Linked DNA regions of Homo sapiens: all the other regions are linked to region 2. Evidence: promoter capture Hi-C in 16 types of primary human blood cells and fetal thymus (Javierre and others, 2016). All regions are on one chromosome and are shown on one strand. The core of a region is centred on a gene start or on the middle of the fragment in contact, and the rest is flanking DNA. Distances in the headings are between cores, read along the strand shown.

Evidence for each region. Contacts are between HindIII fragments. The CHiCAGO score rates a contact against its expected background, and 5 or more counts as called.
Region 1: a contact is called between a fragment that was not itself captured here and the fragment with the promoter of BMP8A in region 2, in 1 of 17 cell types (total CD4 T cells). The highest score is 5.2, in total CD4 T cells.
Region 3: a fragment that was not itself captured here is called in contact with the fragment with the promoter of BMP8A in region 2 in 1 of 17 cell types (M2 macrophages); the score reaches 5.4 in M2 macrophages.

Annotation. Positions count from the first base shown.
Region 1 is chr1:39,276,100-39,279,807 of GRCh38, reverse strand. The region is part of intron 6 of MACF1 (microtubule actin crosslinking factor 1); the gene reads right to left. Among named protein-coding and RNA genes, the nearest start is that of MACF1, 73 kb to the right of the region's middle. The HindIII fragment of the contact is 172 bases long and covers 1,615-1,786 here.
Region 2 is chr1:39,488,871-39,492,991 of GRCh38, reverse strand. BMP8A (bone morphogenetic protein 8a) reads right to left here and starts at 1,356. Exons shown (of 7, transcript NM_181809.4): 1 at 667-1,356. The coding sequence starts at 1,000. LOC124904101 (a long non-coding RNA gene) reads left to right here and starts at 1,444. Exons shown (of 2, transcript XR_007065978.1): 1 at 1,444-2,303; 2 at 2,865-4,121. RefSeq lists silencers at 1,028-1,127, 1,228-1,857. The HindIII fragment of the contact is 20,371 bases long and covers 1-4,121 here.
Region 3 is chr1:39,329,797-39,333,431 of GRCh38, reverse strand. It overlaps MACF1 (microtubule actin crosslinking factor 1), which reads right to left. Exons shown (of 101, transcript NM_001394062.1): 37 at 1-2,229. Among named protein-coding and RNA genes, the nearest start is that of MACF1, 130 kb to the right of the region's middle. The HindIII fragment of the contact is 4,223 bases long and covers 1-3,635 here.

The DNA of each region.
Region 1 (3,708 bases), core at 451-2,950, 210 kb after region 2:
AAGGCATTTACTAGAAATGTGACCTCAGGCAAACCATGTAAGCCTCCTGGCCCAATTTTCCCCATATTTAAAATAGGATAATAACTTTCTCAAAGGATCATTATAAGGATTAAATAAGATGATGTAGATAGTGCCGAGGGTACATGTATTCCCTTCCCATAATAATAAGACAGCATACCCAACACAATTTTTGGTCTGGGTGTTGGGGCAGAGAAAACACCGGCATGTCAATAGAACATCCTGTCTCTTAGTCGTCTCTATCAGGTGCAGTACCATGAAAGTAGTAGCTTCCCTTGTGATCAATACAAGGGAGAAGTCAATAATAAGTCATCTCCAAGTGTCTGAATTTACAAACTCATAATAGATGAGATTAAATATCAGATGATATTTTAAAATTGGAAAAAAAAAAGGGCCAGGAACTTTAACACTATATTTAGAATAAAAGAAAGCTGCAGGCTACTAAATATTACTAAGATGTCTGAAGAAAGACCGTGAGAATAGAAGAGTATGGGAAGCTTGCATTGAGTACAGAAAAGGGAAGCCAGGAAGTACTGCCTCCATGCCTGTGAAGGTGAAACTGTACCCTACCCAGCAGATTCAAGGGACATAGGATCTTATGCCCTTGACAGGTACATTTCTACAGAAGAAATCAGACTATTCTACTTTGATGATGCCAGCTAATAAGCCCATCCTACAAATCATTCCTCTACTCACCACCTCTCTGCTCTGACTGCATGTTCACCTGACAACCTTCAGATTATTATTTGCTTCCCATATAGATATTCTAAAGCAACAAAAGCAGTAAGTGGCCAATTCAAATTCTTGAATCACTTGGCAGTTAAAATTTATTTTGTAAATTAATAAATTCACATAGACCAATCTCAAGCAAATGTGATCAGTGTGAGTCAGTTTACTAAAACTATTAATCAACTCCAGATCTACCTGGGGCTGGGGGAGGGGCGGTAGTGGGGAGAGAAGCTATGGAGCTGCAGAGCCAAGGACACAATAATGGATCACGGCTCTTCCTATAAACAGCTTCTTCCTAGTACCAATTCTATTTCAGTTCCCCTTAACATTTCTAGCTACCTATTTCACTGGCTAAATGCAACATTGATATATCCCACTGCCTTCACTGTAGCTGCTTCACGTACATATTAAAGTAAAACATTATTGGGAACAGGAAATAGATTTGTTGATGTAAAACAAGACAGAACTTGAATAAGCAAAACAAAATCTGAGTATTTGGGTTCTTCACCCAAAAATGAAATTCCAGTTAGTTAATTGATATTGTATGTTCATTACAGCCATAATCTTTCTAATAACATCTCTCATTTCTTAGTATTTCTGTATATTGCACTAAAACTACTTCAATGAACAGCTTTACTTCAGATTTTAAACATAGTTGTAATGAGATAGATGTTTGGATCCCTAAGGGAAAGAAAAATAAAATACCTGTTTGGATTAGGGCCATTACCTAGACTGGAAACTGGATGAGAAAAATGGGATTATCATCACAACCATCTCAGTAATTAAATTTGGCTTTCATCAATCTCTTTCTGTATACTCACACATGATATGTGTGCACAGTACTGTGCTCTGGGCTATGCAGAAGCTTTTACCTTAATCTCCCAAATGCAGAAATCCAGCTTTAGTTTCAGAGATCTTTCTCCCTCATCTGGGCTTTTTAAGGAGGAAGCCATTTGGAGAGGGAGAACAGCCTCAACAGTATGCCTGAGAATATGCAAATTCCACTTGAATTTCCTTTCATCTCACACTTCCCAAAGCTTGGTTAATTGCTTCTCTGAAGTATTCCCAGAAGCTGAATGTTTTCCTAATAATTCAATAAGTATTGACTGAACAACATCTTAGCACTATGACTGGCACCATGGAGAAGAACAAGAAAAGACACACCACTTACTTATACTGTTAATATTTTTTGAGCAACCATTATATTCTAGGAGCTGTGCTTAAATTCTTGATATCTCAAAATAAAAAAACACAGCCTCAGGCCTCAAGTTCAAGCAATTTAATCAGGGAGACAATTTACTATACAAAGAGATCAATGTTGTGACAGAGGTAAGCAAGTAATCCAAACTAGCAATGCCAGAGGATTGCTCAGCAACAACAACATCTGTGCTGAGTTTTAATAAGTAGAAGTTGGCCAGGTAAAAAGGTGGAAAACAAAAAAAGAAGACATGCTTGGCCTGCAAGAACTTAGTTGAGACATGCCATAACTAACATATGATTATCCCAAATATTTTCCCAGATAACAACAGATGTATGAAGGTAAAACAGGAATACAGGAAGGGAAGCTCTGTAGTCCTCCTGAATACCCAAACTTTTAGAAATTTATTTACACATATACACATATTTAAAATTAAGCAGTATATTTAAGCATTTAGTATTAATGTATTTTCTGCCTTTGTAATTTCAAAAAACTGTATTATTCAAACTTCACATGCATCTTTAACATCAATGTTTTTTCCTTCAATAAAGCTATCTTTTTAGTGAATTTTCTAGAAAATACTGTCTACTTTTCTAAGATTTTAAAGTTAATAACAGCACTTTTCTGAATCTACATTGTCTCTGGGTATTTCATTTCAAACCACAAGAGTCCAGTTACATAACACTGGATTAGGGTTTTTTTTTTTTTTCATTCATTCTGCTGTGTTTATTTGTGATCCCCATAATGTATGTGTATGTTTCATATGCAATGTGAGTGATTCAAAAAAAAATTTTAATGTTAAGGCTTGTATACAATTACTTTCAACACTTCAAATTAGGAGATTATATTCCCAGGAACAATAACTAAAACTTTCTTAGATTTTTCATTCCTCTTTTTTGTTTAATCAATTATGTCAGTTGATCTCTACAAAAAAATGATAGTGATTGAACTAGCAGATGGTGACATAGATTTATTCACCCTTTTTCATGAACTGACTATAAGCTCCCTGGAAGCCTAATAACAAGAAATGCTTTATAAGAAGTAAAATATAAAGAGAATATCTCTTTTCTGAAGGTTAATTTCTGGACGAAAAAAATCTCATATCTATGGTAGGTCACATGAAATAGTTAAACAAATTTATAGCCAAAAACGACCAATAATTATAGTAATATCCAATACAGAATCTCAGCAGAATGGAAAATTACTGTGGGCTGGAGGATTTCTAGAAGTACCATATAAACTCATCCTTGAAGGGTGTTACAGAACAGGTGAAAGCCAAGGAAGAAAGGAATTCCACGTAGAAAGTGGATGTAAACAAACTGAGATAAGGTGAAACAGAAATAGTAGTTAAGGGACTGATCTGTTAAAATGAGAAGGTTTAAATTGGGAACCGATAGAAAAGATAAGATAGATTACAAAGGAACTGGTAATCTATCTTATCTTTATCCCAGCTGAGGAGTTTCGACTTGGTATCTTATCTTATCCCAGCTGAGGAGTTTGGACTTGGTAAGTCTCTCAGTGGATGAGACGAGTTGTTCTGAGCAAGTAAGTACTTGATTATTATGTCCTCAAGTTTCTAGCTGACCTCATCACCCACTAAAGATAAAGCATCAGACCTTGAAAACTTTCAAGAAGCAAATGAGGGCTGGGTGCAGTGGCTCACTCCTGTAATCCCACCACTTTGGGAGGCATAGGCAAGAGGATCACTTGAGCCCAGGAGTTCAAGACGAGCCTGGGAAACACTGTGAGAAATTGTCTCTACA
Region 2 (4,121 bases), core at 107-2,606:
TTGCCTGGGAGAACACAGTGGGTCCAGCTGCCCACTGGGCCATTCCACAGGACCGGACACTCACCCTATACCAGGCCACATGCTAAGTGCAGGGCCCAGGGTGACAAGGCCACAGTCCCTGCCCCAGCGAGCTGAGTCTGCTCCTTCCCCAGCCGCTCCCCTGACAGCCGCACCCCACCCAGGCTCCGCACAGGGAAGAGCCTGCTGTGGACTCAGGGCACGCGACTCAGCTCTGGTCACTCCGATGATGTGACCACAGGTTTCCACGCTGAACTTTGTCCCTCTCCTCAGTACTGTCCTTATCACAGTGACAGCATCCCGGCCTCTGTTTACTCACCTGTCTCCCCAGGACCAGGCTGTCTTCCCGGGGCAGCCCAGGTGGGCAAAGACATCACCTAATTCTTACTCCTGGGTGTGTCTGGGGCAGGGTGAAGGCAGCGCCTGGGAGTCCACAGTCCCCCACACTCTGCTCCTGACCACCCCGCAGCCCAGGGGGCCCCCATGACCCTTAGACCTTCCCTAACCACGGCGGTCCCACTCCCCTGTGGTTCGCGTCCACCGTCTGTGATTCCCCGTTCGGCCAGGGCCCGGCACCGCCCGCGGATGCGCGCCCCTCCCCTGCAGCCAGCTTACTCCGAGGGTCCCCGCGCGGGCGGCCGCACTCACCCATGTTGACGAAGCTCATGACCAGGTCGGCGCGGCCCAGGCGCTGCTCCGCGGGCGCGCCGTCCTCGTCGTCGTCGCCAGCCATGGCGTGGTACAGGTCCAGCATGAAGAGCGGCGCGGACGCGGGCAGCCGGGAGGCGGCGGGTGGCGCGCGGGGCCGGGGCCGCCCGGGTAGCCCGAGCACCGCCAGGATCTCGCGCTGCACGTCCCGGCGCTCGCGCGCGCCCAGACGTCGCTGGGGACAGCCGGGCGGGGGTCGCAGGCCGGGGCCGCCCCCGCCCAGCGCGCACAACGTCAGGCCCAGAAGCCAGAGCGGTCCGGGGCGCGCGGCCATGGCGGGCCGGGGGCGCTCAGCGGGCGCACATCAGCTCCGCCGCCGCCCCTGGGCCCGGGGACGCCCCGACGGCGAACGGGGAGCTGAGTTCGGCGAGCAGGGGGCGGGGCTCGGCGGGCGGCGTCTGCGGCCTCAGCGCGGTCCCTGGAGCGCCCCCCGCGCGCACCTGCCCCGGCTCCGGGACAAGCGGACGCTGACGCGGACGCAGACGCCAACGCTTCGAGGCCGGGGCTGTTCTGAGGGCTGGGACTGTCAGCCAATCCGTCTGTCGCCGCCGTTCCCACCAGTCCGGCTGTGGCTGCGGTCCGCGCAGCGCAGGGGCGACCGGCGAGCTCCGGCAGCGACCCGGGCGGCGCGATTCCCGCGAGTCCTTGCCCCGGCTCAGCCGTCTGTGCCGCCCGCCCACCCCCGGGACTGACCAATGGGGGCGCGGGGGCGGGGCCTGGGCGCGGAGGCCGCGCCCGCTAGGAGCCCCGGGCGGCGGCAGGTGTTGCGGGTGGGGCGACCCCGAGGTGCGACCTCGGCGTGGCTGGCGGTTGGTCCGGGCGAGGAGCCCGCAGCCTGGGCGTCAGCGTGGTCAGGGCCGTCGTGGCTCCCGCCGCGGGCCTCGGCGCAGAGATCCTAAGGCCGCGGCGCCGTCCCGGTCCCGCCAGTGGTGCCACCCGGCTGCCTCGCCGTGGTGTGCCGTGGTCGCCACCGGGCCCGACACGCGGCCGTAGCCCCGTCTGGAGAGCCGGGCGGTGCCAGCCAAGCCCCGCGGGTGGGGCCTGTTCCTCTGCCCGCAGCAGCCGGCCCGGGTTCCGGCCACCGCGGCCCCTCACCGCCTCCTGGCGCCTTCCCCGTGGCCCCTGCATGCGCTTCTGCGGGCGCCTCCTTCTCGGCACCTGCTCGGCTGCTTCTCCCTGCGTCCCCCACCTGGCTCCCGCGTGAGCCCAGGCAGCGCCCCAGTCGGGCCGCCCCCGCCAGCCCTAGCTGTGCGCCCTGCGTCCCCGGTACTGATCCAGCTTTGCGGAGGAGGCTCCGCCTCCTGCCTCCAGCTGGGCCAGAAGCTCTGGGGCCCTTCCCGAGCACTCGGGAGCCACCTGTGCACATCTTCTCAGTCCCCACGGCCCCGGTGCAGGCCTGCCAAGAGAAGGATCCCCGCGGAAACGTCTCGACTGACTCAGTCCCTTTCTGCACACCTGCTCTTCCCTGGGCGCGCTCTCGCCTTACTTATTCCTGTGTGGTTCAGGCGCTGCGGAAGGAGAAGGCACCTAGACTGCACTGGGAAGGCTCCTGGAGTTGACCTGGAGCGCCAGGAAAGGTCAGTGGAGGAAAGTGCTCCAGGCAGAGGGAATAGCTTGTGCCAAGGCCCTGAGACCCCGGCTGGGGAGCCTAATAATGGCAACAGTCAGCACTTGCCACGCCAAGGCATGTTCTGAGTGTGTGTCTCGTGTCATTTCTGTGATGCTCGCACATCGTTAGGGGGTACATACCACTGGAACCTCCTCTTTTAATAAATGAGGAAACTGAGGCACACGGCGGTTAAGGGACTTACGCCAGGTCACACAGCAGTGGAGCTGCGCTCGGGCAGGGGGGCAGTGGAAACTGGAGAGCCCAGGGGGCAAACGGCGGAGGCTGGAGGGGCTGGCAAGGGAGGCACCGCAAAGGGCCTCACAGGGGCTAGACGAGGGCCCTGGGCACCAGAGATTATGGTGCCCCGCCATGTGGATTGAAGATTAAACCTCGAAGCAAGTGTATAATGCCCCCAAAAATCACATTTGGAAGTCATCACTTCAATAAAATTTTCTACAACAAATTCTTAATCTAAATAGTCATTTGCTGGTGCCTTAAACACACGCCTAGTTTGTCTTTTACCCAACAGGTATATTTCCACACTGCTCGTAAATTTTCTGCGCGGTCCCCAGAGCGCCCCCCATGAGGCACCTGCATCAGCTCCGGGCAGAGCAGATGTGGATGCCACCGCCTAGAAGCCGGGGCTACCCTGCGGACTGGGACTGTCCCATAAGGATACTGAGCTAAGGATAATGCAGAATAACCGTTGAAAGTACCCAAGACCAGAGCTTGGAAGCAGAGCGGAATATGGATCAGAGGGAGACAGGAGTCAGGGCCCTGCAGTTGGAGGCAGGTACAGCAATCAGATGTGGGGGTGGGTACAATGACCATGAGTCTCTAATGGTGATGGGGTGGAGGGGCAGAGGAGAAAGCTGTTTAGGAGGCTGAATCCACAGGGCTTTGTCCCCATGTCATCTTGGTCAGAGTCTCGGAATCTCCTGCCCACACCCCCTTCACTGTCCTCTCTGCACGCCCCTTTTGAATCCACTGCACATCACTTGAGGCCCTAGATCCAGCCTGTACAATTCTCAGGTTTGTTTTGTGCAATTCTGGGCTCCCAGCTAGACTGCAAGCTGCCCAGTGCTGGGCTGATTCTTATAACAGAAATCATTTCTCAATTTAGGATGTGGAGATAGAGCTGTGTTTTCTAAACAACGGGCTTCACATTCCCATAAACCTAAACAGCAGATTTTAGCCATTCCAAGGGCCTCTGCCCACGCTTCAGTTCAGCAACAACCACCGTGAGCTGCTCTGTGCTGTGCCCTGAACCAGAGATGGAGCAGACAAGCCCCCTGCCCCTGAGCAGCCCCCACAGCAACAGGGGTGACAGCTGGTGAACACGGCAATTTCCCAAAGCAAAATGAAAGCTGTGCTCCCAGAGGAGCCAGCAAAGTGGCTGTAAGGGCAGAGGAGCGGGGAAGTGGGAGCAGACCACATGAGTGGAATCCAGAACATTAGGACTGGAAGGGAACTGAGGTGGGGTAGGTTTCTTGGAGAAAGTAGTGTCAAAACAAGGGTTTTCCCTAGCCACCTGGCAACTCTGTGATCTTAACCTCTCTCAGGCTCAGTGTCTTATCAAGAAAAGGGGGCTAATGATCATAGAACTGTTAAGCGTATTCAGTGAGAATGTATATAGAGCACTTAGCACAATCACTGGCTTACAGTAAGCAGTCAATAAATATGAGCTAGTTATTGCATCATTCAAGGCCCCAGCAGACACCAAATTTTCCTTCCTCATTTAGCATTTCTATCACAGGACTGTGATTATATATATATATATTTATTT
Region 3 (3,635 bases), core at 736-3,235, 160 kb after region 2:
TTCAAGCAATTCTAATGGATGACTGCATGACAGAAAAATTTCCCTGCCACTATCTTCCTCATCGGTCTTTTCTGACATCATCATACTACCACCTGCGATGTTCTGTGCTTCTTGACTTTCTTTATGGTCATCCTTAGCCAGAAATGTTTTCTTTAACATTTCCTTTTTGTCCAGAGGATGAACATTCCCATCAGTTTCAGACTTTAGTTCTAACTTTATACCTAGAGTTTTCTTTACCTGAACTTGTAACTTTTTGCTTTGGGGTTTTATGTGAGATCCTCCAGTTTCATCATGAATATATTCAGTCTCAAGAGTGTGTGCTTGTTCATTCTGACATGTAAAGGAAGTGTTTCTTAGAGGTTGATGTTCTTTCTTTGGTGTTTCAACAGAAAAAACATCTTTGTCAACCACCAACGGCACACCTTCCGCCTCAGCAGGAGGTATGGTCAGGAGGTGTCCCCTGCTGGCATTTTCTCTGACAGACACTGCTGTTTGGTCTTCCCTTTGGGTACCTATCAACTGCCTTTGTACCTCTAATTTGACTTTATTTATTACCTTCAAAGCATCAATGTTTGGATTTCTCTCTTTTTGTTCTACAAACAGATCCTGTTCAGGGTTCTCTACAGAAGAATCTTCTGTTTCTACAGTGGTCTTTTTGCCTTTTTCTGTAGTGCAATCTTCCCGATCGGGATATTCTTTGTTCTGAGAAGAAAACTGGAACTCAGGCAGCCTCACAGTCCACCCACTGCTGAAAGTTCCTGAGATTTTCACATTAGCTGATTCTTGCAATCCCTCAGGAGTTTTTTGCCTTTGATGCCCAATTTCAACCACTTTTGGAGGACTTGTTTGATACTCATCTCTGGATGTTAGTGTCTCCATCAGCTCTTTATCTAACAGAAGCAGCCTCTGTCCATTTTGCACATTAATATAGCTGTGAGTCATCAGCTGGAACAACAGATTCTCACTCTGGCTTGCTGTGGCCTTAGGGTGGCTCTTGCTGCACGGTAGAACTGCTGCTCCAGGATTAATATTTTGTTCTGCAGAGTCTGCTAGTTGCATGTGGGGCATCACATCAGGTATACAAATCGATTTTAAGTTATTGGCAAGATCTCTATCCAGGATACCACTTTCTATTGCTTTCTTCCAGGACAAAATCTCTGTGGTTGCTGGTAGAAACAGAGCCTTAATATGCTGTCGGTTACTAAGGATTTTATGTGCTAGTTCAGTAGACACAATACCTTGTTCTAGGGCATCTGTAATTGGGAGGATCTCTCCAGATTCAGGCCACAGCAACCCCATGAATGACCAGAGGGACTCCAGAATCACAAGGGCGATCTTAGCAGCTACTAGATCATTGCTCACTGCTTCATCTATTGTTAGCCTTTGCCCCGTGACAGTGTCTATGATGCCTCCTGTCTGAAGCTGCCTTATGAGGATAGCACAGGCCATATCTTGGTCAATCAGATTATGTCTTACAGCCTCTTCCACTGTAAGTCTGTGTCCTGTTCTTGGATCTACTATGCCACCAGCAAAAAGCTGAGCTTCCAGCAACCGGACAGTGACCTGCCTATCTATTAGCCCTTCCTGAACTGCACGGAAAATGCTAACCTTCCGGCCTGATTTCAAGCTCACCATCCCCCCTGCCAATTGTTTGACAGGCAGTAATTTGAATCCTGATTCCTGGTGGACAATACATCGCTGCATCAGATCCAGCAAACCAATTTTCTCAGCTGTGTTAGGGTCTATCAAATTCTTGGATGTTCTAAGATAAGACTCTAATACTGAATGAAGCCATGCAGAAATGAGGCCTTGATGAAAAGCCTCTTCCAGGTTAATACAGTTCTCACTAGGGGAAAGACTGAAACCTCCAGTTGCCAGGTGAGCTTCTAAGATTTTCAGTCCAACTGTCTCACTGATTATTCTCTTTTCAATTGCTTCCACCACAGAAAGAGGGCCTCTGCTCTCAGTAAGCCTGCTTATTAAGGCCAGGGCATCCTGTAGCTCCCGGAGCTGCTGGTACATCTGGGGATTAATGAGGTTTCTGGCTATGCCCTCCTCCAAAGAGAGGTTTTCACCCGTCTCAGGGGCAATGAGGCCAGACATGATAACCTGAGATTCCAGAAGCACTAGGCCTGTGTCTTGGTCAAGGAGGCCCTTTTGCATGGCTTTGAAGATGGGAAATATCTCCACTGTGCCTAGGTCAATCACCCCAGCAACTGCTCTGCATTCCTAAAAAAAAAAAAAAAAAAAAAAAAAAAAGGAAAAGAGAAGAAAAAGAAAACTGAATCAGAGCCAATGGCAAAGCACAACTATTGAAAGGAGTCATTCAAAGAACTATAGTATACAGGCCAGGCACAGTGGCTCACGCCTATAATCTGCCCAAGGCAGGCAAATCATGAGGTCAGGAGTCTGAGACCAGCCTGACCAACATGGTGAAAAACCCGTCTCTACTAAAAATACAAAATATTAGCTGGGTGTGGTGCGCACCTGTAATCCCAGCTACTCAGGAGGCTGAAGCAGGAGAATGGCTTGAACCCGGGAGGTGGAGGTTGTAGTGAGCTGAGATTGCATCACTGCACTCCAGCCTGGGCAACAGAGCGAGACTCTGTCTCAAAAAAAAAAAAAAAAAGTACTACAGTATATAAAATTCTGACCACAAGGAAAACCCAGCATGGGATAAGCCCCAACATGTAGGAAATATTCTGAAGCAAGCCACCCGGTGTTAAGACTAAAAAAGAGTTTTTCTAAACTGCAGAATGTTTAATAGGTCAGAAGTTCCTAGATTACTTGAGAGATAGTGGCATTAAGCATATCTGAGTGACAAGCTCTACAGGGTGGTAAGCAGTGAAAATGATAGGATTTAATCTTATTTCTAAGACTAAATCATCATAAATGTTCTTAAAGACACGTAACAGTTCCCCCAAAGTGAGAATTCAACGCCATACAACAAGTTTTTGGTGTTGCAAACCACACAGAAGACTCTAGAAGTAGCAATTCCCTGCTGATGAGCACAGCAGGACTGGTCCATAGAATAAGAGAGATTTATGCAGCCCAGAAGCTCCAGAACAATTGTGCATCCCAGTAAACAGGCCTGTGTATACTACTCAAGCAACTATTTAGCAAGTGGGATACTCATATTCTTGGACAATGCTAGCTTCTCCCAAGGCAATGGCTCTAAATTAAGTTAGTTCTAGGTCTTGGAAGTAGCAAGTCAAGGAAGAAACAGATTGGGGACCCTTGCCTATGGAACCACTAGTAACTTTTCTTCTGATCCAGGCTAGAATGGGTAGTACAATAACCATGACTACAGCTATCACTTATTACTAGATCTACTGAACACTGACATTTAATTCTCACAGTAATCCTATGAAAACAATTGTTTGAATCTTTAGTTTGAAGAAATGAAAATGAGGCACAGAGTTTAGGTAACTTGTCCAAGGTCACAAAACTAGTGAGTTCCAGAAACAAATCAAGGTCTGATTCTAAATCTTGTTTGTCCTCCCAGAGTCAGACCCAGAAAACTGTAAAAGACAAGTACAGTAGAGTCACATCTTAACACAGGAGTTAGGTCCGAAGGTCAGTGAATAAGGCATATACGCTGTCAAAATTACCCTTGCAAATCCTAGAAACAGCTC